2 separate regions of the Homo sapiens genome follow, and region 2 is linked to region 1. The links are contacts of gene promoters, found by promoter capture Hi-C in human tissues and cell types (Jung and others, 2019). All regions are on one chromosome and are shown on one strand. The core of a region is centred on a gene start or on the middle of the fragment in contact, and the rest is flanking DNA. Distances in the headings are between cores, read along the strand shown.

Evidence for each region. Contacts are between HindIII fragments. The study calls those that stand out against the background at their distance.
Region 2: a fragment that was not itself captured here is called in contact with the fragment with the promoter of LGALS3 in region 1 in 2 of the 25 tissues and cell types used here (adrenal gland and small bowel).

Annotation. Positions count from the first base shown.
Region 1 is chr14:55,126,920-55,130,890 of GRCh38, reverse strand. It overlaps LGALS3 (galectin 3), which reads right to left and starts at 1,639. Exons shown (of 6, transcript NM_002306.4): 1 at 1,591-1,639. RefSeq lists an enhancer at 804-993 and a silencer at 1,344-1,943. The HindIII fragment of the contact is 8,667 bases long and covers 599-3,971 here.
Region 2 is chr14:55,075,525-55,079,495 of GRCh38, reverse strand. No RefSeq gene overlaps it. Among named protein-coding and RNA genes, the nearest start is that of MAPK1IP1L, 26 kb to the right of the region's middle. RefSeq lists enhancers at 588-1,089, 1,090-1,591, 1,614-2,113, 1,032-2,231. The HindIII fragment of the contact is 3,721 bases long and covers 360-3,971 here.

The DNA.
Region 1 (3,971 bases), core at 390-2,889:
TTTATAAACTTGAGGTAGGCCAGGCGCAGTGGCCCACGCCTATAATCCCAGCACTTTAGGAGGCCGAGGCAGGCGGGTCACCTGAGGTCGGGGGTTCGAGACCAGCCTGACCAACATGGAGGGACCCCCCCCCCCCCACCACCACCACCACGAAAAATACAAAATTAGCCGGGCATGGTGGCGCATGCCTGTAATCCCAGCTACTCGGGAGGCTGAGGCAGGAGAATCGCTTGAACCCGGTAGGCAGAGGTTGCGGTGAGCCGAGATAGTGCCGTTGCACTCCAGCCTGGGCAACAAGAGCGAAACTGCGTCTCAAAAAAAAAAAAAACCTTAGGTAAACAAATCAGAACTTTGGAAGCTGACGAAAGCTTTTTCTTCTCAGGCCCTGTGCCCAAGTAGTTAATTGTATCAGTCTCATTTTCTTCAGAATTAACTGAGCCTTCTCCCATTTCTTCCCCAGAATCCTAGAGACAGCCTGAGTCACTGAGGTCCAGGTGTCCTCATTGCGCAGCAACCCAATTCCCAGAGTCACTTTACAAACATTCCGCAGTCTCTGGAACCCGCATGGCGAACTTGAAGGGTAAGGCTGAAACCTAAGTCCCAGCCTCCACCATGCGTCCCCGACTCCCTGGACCTGAACGCCTACTGCTCAGAGGGCAATCGTTTTAGTGTTTCTATTTGAGCACCCGATAATTCAGAATAAACTCTCAAACATGTTGTGAAAGCCCCCCGGTAGGGCTCTGCACGCTAGGACCAACATTTTGCCACACCCACCATTTCCTGGGCACAGACAGTCTGGGCAGGGAGGGGCATTTGATTCGGAAAAGCTTAGAGTTTGCAGTCTTTGCAAAGCCGGGTCATGCCCACTCAGGCCATGGGGCAAGCACCATTTTCTGTGGGATCAGCAACCAGACAGCGGCTGCAGCCCGGCCGCAGCTGGTCCCGGTGGAAGAACTCATTCGCGCTCCACAGCGAGATCTCCTCCAAGTCCAGCCTCAGCTGATGCTCAAAAGGGGCCGGGCCAGCCAAGCTGTGGGTCCCGGGAGGCGCCCTATGCAGTCCTGGGAAGTCCCTTCGCTCCCCCGCGGCCGTGATCTGGGGAAGGGTGACGGGGCTCCAACCCCAATTAGAGAAACTGGAGCGGCCGTCTGGTTTGCTGAGCGAGCCCCTCCGCCTCCCCTCGCAGCGGGACCTGGTGGGACTGGGGTGACCAGACTGCGGCTCGTCACCGGATGGGGCTTACTCTGGGGCCGCAGAGCGCAGGCGGCGGAGGTGCGACGGCGGCGAAGCCCACGAGGCTCCGCAGAAGGTGGCCCGTGCCGCCCCGGGGACGTGTGTGGGTCTCGTAAGGTGCTGCCAACCTTCCCCGAACGCCAGCGCCCTCGATAATCAAAGGCGACTGCCCCGGGCCCAGATCGCTGCCCGCCGCCCCGCTCCTGGAGGGCAGAGCACAGGCTGTGGGGCTCTCCGCGCGCGCCCCGGCCCGGTCCCGGGGAGCCGAACCCTCTCCGGACCGCGCCCCAAGCAGCGCCCGGGCGCCCTCTCCCCTGCCCGGCCGGAGCCGCGTCCCCCGCGCCCCGCGCAGCTCACCGCTCGTTGGCTGGCTCCGGACGGCTGCTGGCGAGGAGGTGCTGCGGGCGCCGGCGGGGCGGTGGCTCCGAGCCTCAAATACTCCCAGCCCCGCCCGGCCCGCCTCTCCCGAGGCGGGGCGGCGCCCCTGCCCAGCCAGTCCTCTCCCCGGACCAGGCTGGGCGAGCCCCGCGCCGGCCAGACACCCCGAGCCGCCGCCGCAGGGGCGACCAGGAAGCTCCCGACGGGGAGAGCGCGGGCACTGAGGGGCGCGACCTCCGCTGCCACCGTTAGGTTCCGTGGCGCTCCCGGGACCTGGGCTGCGGCCGCGTCTGTCCCCCGCCCTCTCCAGAATCACCTGAGTGAAGAATTCGCTGAGAGGAATTCAATTAATAGGTTGCTTTATTTGTAGAATACAAAACCAAAAATCTTTTCAATGTCTATTCCCTAGGGAACTGACTACAAATTGACTACTTATTCTAGATCAATAGGCCTAGTCTCAAAGCAATTCCCTTATAAAGCAATTAATCAGACAACTCTTTAACACATTTTACACAGGAAATTCACATTATATATATATATACCCTCCTTTTAACTTCACCTTATCTTTTTGTTGGAAGAAAGAGATAAGTATTATTATCTCATTTTTACTGTCAGGGTGCTATAGTCTGAATGTTTATATCCCGCCAAAGTTCATATGTTGAAATCCTAACCCTCACGGTGATGTATTAGGAAGTGGAGGCCTTGGGAAGTGATTAGGTCATAGGGGCAGGGTCCTTATGAATGAGATTGGTGCCCTAATAAAAGAGGCCGGAGAGAGACCCCTTGCCACTTCCACCTTGTGAAGACACAGCCAGAAGGCTCCCTCTGTGAACCAGAAAGCAGGCCCTCACCAGACATCAAATCTGCTGGCCTGGATCTTGGATTTCCCGACCTTCAGAACTGTGGGAAATAAATGTATATTGCCTATAAGCTACCCAGTTTATGATATTTTGTTACAGAAGCCCAAACAGACTAAAAGAGAAAATGATTTACTTATCCAAGCTCACTCATGTCTAGGAACAAAATCCAGAAATCCTGGCTCTTACACTTTACCTGGAAAAGCACCAGGCCAAAGAATCCTTGCAGGTTGGAACAAGGATCTCTGAGGAAAAAAAAAAAAATTAAGGGGGGTAGGGGAAGAATCTTTGCAGGGACTGGCTTATGTAAACTATGGAGAAAACCAGGTATCATCTGGTTCCTAAATAATTCCTGTAGCCCTTATAGTAACCAATTAATAACATAAAGATAAATTATTTCCTGCAGTTTTTCAACTTAGGGAAATGTTCCTGTGAAGGACTCACTTGATGGAATTGAGAAGCTGTCTTGGCATTCTCTAGGATAAACTTGAAAGTGTCTTAGTGGTTGGCACGGTTCCTGCAACATCGTCCCCTCTAGGCTTGCACATAGAAGTCACAGTGTGGCTGGGGATTATTTATGCAAGTTTGAACTCTTATCTGAAGAGGTAGCCTGGCAACCAATTTATTTGAATGGATCACCCATAGTAAATGACTAACCTCTGGGTAGTAAAAAGGTATCACCCAAAGGAATGCCCTTGGTCTCCAGGGAAAATGCTATAAATCTTAAGACTTTGAGTCATGAGGCCTCATGGCCAGGAGTGGTACCCTTAGAGGGTTAGCCATTGGTAATAAGAAAAGTAGATAGCCAAATGAATTGCTGTGGAGGCAAGGGATGAATCACACTCTTGCCTTTTCTTCTGGTCATTTCAGAGATAGACAAAGTTCATGCCCTGGCTACTTAGGGGGCTTGCTTACACCTGATTGTATGATCAGACATGCTTTTGGCTTCCCTTCCTTACTTGTACATCCCCATGAATACTTTGGTGCCAACTTCATGCCCCATAAAGCTAACAAAAGGATCCTGCTATGATCAGGGTGTGCCTGGGAATTTATAATTTGTACACATGCAATAAACGGCTCTTTATTACCCAATCCAAAGTCACATCCCTTTTCTAAGATAAGCGTAAAAAGGAACCCAATAAAATCAATTAAGATATCATTGAGTAACTTCTATGTACAGCTCACTGTGTTATTTGAAATAGGGACAAGGCAAGTGTTAGCCCTCAAACAAAAAGGCTGTCTGGTTTCTACGGATGCAGAGATTGTAAGCCGCTGATAAAAGCAAGGATTCTAAGAGAGGCATCTCCACAGGAGGGAAAGGAGGAAACTTGGGAAAGCAGGTGGCTGTCCAGAAGGTCAGGAGGGAAGCTGCGTGAGAACTTCAGTTAGAGCCAGAAGAGAGTAGGAGATGAAGATGAGAACAAAAAGGGAAAGTCTTTAAGGATAAGCAGAAAAGAGAAAGAAAGACAGTAATTGGAGAAGAAAGCAGAGCCGATTATTTAT
Region 2 (3,971 bases), core at 971-3,470, 52 kb after region 1:
CAGCTAACTTAATCTAGTAGACAGAATATAGGGACAGAAACAGAGCCAATCATAGGTCTTCTACCCTATCATGCTCCGTTTCACATCCTCTGGCCCCAACACTATCAACATATAGGCAGGTATTGCTGCTCCTGACCCATACCATCCTGCATACAGGATTGTCTCTCCCCCTTGCCCTTTTTGCAGTCTCTTCTTGCACCCTTCCCTAAGCATATCTCCAGCCTGAATCCTGCTCAGCTGTCAAATTTCAGCTCAAATGTCATTTCCTCTGGTGAGCTTTCCTTGACTCCAGAATACTGTTACACATTATTTCCCCATCGCTCATTACAAATGTAATTTATATTATTTAGTGATTGTCTCTTCCACTAGCTTGTAAACTACACAAGGGCAGAAACCATTTAACTTGTTCAGTATTGAATTTCCAGGATGTGGCACAGAGTAAGTAGTAAAAAAATACCAGTTAGTTGCTCACACCAGTAGCCCTAGCTACTCAGGAGGCTGAGGTGGGAGGGAGTATCGCTTGAGCCAGGGAGTTTGAGGCTGCAGTGAGCTATGATCGAGCCACTGCACTCCAGCCTGGGTGACAGGGCAAGACCTTGTCCCCCAGAAATAATAATAATAAAATAAATAGGCCGGGCACAGTGGCTCACACCTGTAATCCCAGCACTTTGGGAGGCTGAGGCAGGCGGATTATGAGGTCAAGAGATCGAGACCATCCTGGCCAACATGGTGAAACCCCATCTCTACTAAAAATACAAAAATTAGCTGGGCATGGTGGTACGCACCTGTAGTCCCAGCTACTCAGGAGGCTGAGGCAGGAGAACTGCTTGAACCCGGGAGGTGGAGGTTGCAGTGAGCTGAGATTGCACCACTGCACTCCAGCCTGGCGACAGAGCGAGACTCCATCTAATAAAATAAAATAAATAAATAAAAAATAAATAGGCCAGGCGCAGTGGCTCCCACCTGTAATCCCAACACTTTGGGAGGCTGAGGCGGGCAGATCACCTGAGGTCAGGGGTTTGAGACCAGCCTGGCCAACATGGAGTGAAACCCCATCTCTACTACAAATACAAAAATTAGCCAGGTGTGGTGGCAGGTGCCTGTGTAATCCCAGCTACTCGGGAGGCTGAGGCAGGAGAATTGCTTGAATCCGGGAGGCAAAGGTTGCAATGAGCTAAGCTTGTGCCACTGCACTCCAGCCTGGGTGACAAAGTGAGACTCCGTCTCAAAAAAATAAATAAAAATAAGTAATAAATACATACATACCAGTAAGTTGAACGACTAAAACCTAGGTGCTAAAATATCTTTGCTCATTTATCTTAGGCCTGTTCTATCTTTCTTTGTCCTAGGACAAAATCTTATCAACTCCTTTGTCCAAAGCTCAAATCCCTCGAGACTCATTCCAGGAAGCCTTCTCTTGCCGATTCCCCAGTCAGAGTAGTTGTTGGCCTTCGTGGACACAGGCTAATCTCTCATGTAATCCCAAATGAGCTGGGAAAAGCCGTGCTCTTTTAGAATATGAGGTATTCAGAGTTGCTAGTGGGCCTGAAACTCTGTAATGAATAGCTCATGTGTACTCCCAAAACCCAGCAAGAAGGAATAGTGCAGCTGTGGGCAGCCAAGAAGCAAGTCGTGTTCACAGGTATGTGGCTGACGTCAGTGCGGATAACTCATGAAAGCTGTTCCAGGGTGGAGCTGTTCTCTGGAATGTTGGGAACACAGCTACTCAGAGGTACAATTGTGACACTGGACTTCCTCCCCAGACGGGGCGCCTGCCTGCCCTTCATCTGTTGCCGAAACTCACTCACATACCCAGGCCTGGGGCTTGCGATTTTTCTAATCCATCCCCAAGGTGAGCTGCTTTCAAACAGGGTGTGGAATTGATTTGGAAATATGGCCAGGTGCAAAGTAGCGTGAGGTGAGGAGACAGATGTTCTTTTGGACTCTCTTTCTCCGAGACAGGTCTTTTTCTGAAGTGCCTTAAAATATTAATGGTGCCCTGCGTGATAAAGGGGAAAGAGCATGGCTCTGCACTCCACAGGCTGTGAATTTTTACCCCTTGCTTATGTTGTTGTGAGGACACAGTGAGTGTGAGTAAAGGCCTTGGGTAAGGGGCGGGGCTTATAGGGCATTGCTAAGGGAGAAAACAGAAAACAAAGCATGTGGGTGACTGTCTGAGACATCACTAGTGTTCAACAAATGGTAGCTGTTTCACTATTAGGTGCTCCTCGGGTGTACTCAGAGCAATCCGTGCCTCCTGCATCAGTAACATCACACCTGCCTATTTTTCTGTTTCTTCTGCTAAACTGTAACACTCTTGTAGGCCCAATACCTAGAAAAATGCCTTTCAGCTCCCATGATAAGCTCACATCTGATGTCAGGTGCCAACTGCTTCACATGGATGACTTCATTTAATTCTCGTAACCCTGTGGAGTTAGGCATGAGTGTAATCCTCATTTTATTTTATTTTTTATTTTTTTGTGTGGAGTTTCATTTTTGTTGCCCAGGCTGGAGTGCAATGGCGTGATCGTGGCTCACTGCAACCTCCACCTCCTGGGTTTAAGTGATTCTCCCGCCTCAGCCTCCCGAGTAGCTGGGATTACAGGTGCCCACCACCACGCCTAGCTAATTTTTATATTTTTTAGCAGAGATGGGGTTGAAACCCCGTTGGCCAGACTGGTCTCAAACTCCTAACCTCAGGTGATCCGCCCGCCTCGGCCTCCCAAAGTGCTGGGATTACAGGCGTGAGCCACCACGCCCGGCCCTCATTTTATAGCTGAATAAGCAAAGGCACTACAAGGTTAAGTAATTCAGCCAGTGTGATCTATGTAGTAAGCAGTGGAGTCACGATTTAAACACAGCTGGCCAGGTTCCAGAACCTGTGCTCTTTACCTCTGTTTTTGTTTGTTTGTTTGTTTTCTTTTGTTTTTTTTTTTTTTTTTTTTTTTGAGATGGAGTCTCGCTGTGTCGCCCAGGCTGGAGTGCAGTAGCACTATCTCGGCTCACTGCAACCTCCGCCTCCCAGGTTCAAGCAATTCTTCTGTCTCAGCCTCCCAAGTAGCTGGCGCTACAGGCACGCACCACCACGCCCAGCTAATTTTTGTATTTTTAGTAGAGATGAGGTTTCACCACGTTGGCCAGGCTGGTCTCAAACTCCTGACCTCAAGTGATCCTCCCACCTCAGCCTCCCAAAATGCTGGGATTACAGGCGTGAGACACCACGCCCAGCCTGCTCTCTACCTCTATACTACGCTGCCTCTGTCCTCACTCTAATTATGTTTTTCTCATTTTTCTCCCTAATAGCACAGTGAAAAATACCATCCCTATTGTCTTCCGTATTTGTGGGGCTATCTTTATTCTGCGATTCTTGTTGTACTGGCTCAACATAATGCTTTACACAATTGAATGCTTGACAATTGCCTCCCCATTGGTGCAGAGCTGGGTCTGGCATGCTGGGTTTATGACCCAGTTATGCTCTTTCACAAAAACATTTCTGGATGCCATTGTCAGACAGGACACTAGACTGAGTGGACTACTGGGAAGACCCTTTTATGCTCTTGTGTTCTAAATGACAGCCCTGTTTCCTAAAGTAATTGAGATTTTCAGTTATCAGCATAAAAGGAAACCATGGATGCTAGGCACAGCCTCGTGCTACTGTTACATGCCTCAGACATCAGTCACCACTGAAGTTAGGCTTGTCTGCCTCTCTCAAAGACAGTCTGAGTGAAACTGGAGTTTTCTTTCAATATTAGGTTCTCAGGTCCCATATGCTTTTAAAAACATGTAAATTATATATGCAAGAGAATGACATATATTTGGAGTTAAATAAGTCAAATGAATACTCATGTATAGCCACCATCCCACTCAACTCAATAGAATATTACCAGAATCTCAGGCTAAGCGCGGTGGCTCATGCCTGCAATATCCCAGCACTTTGGGAGGCCGAGGTGGGTGGATTGCTTGAGCCCAGG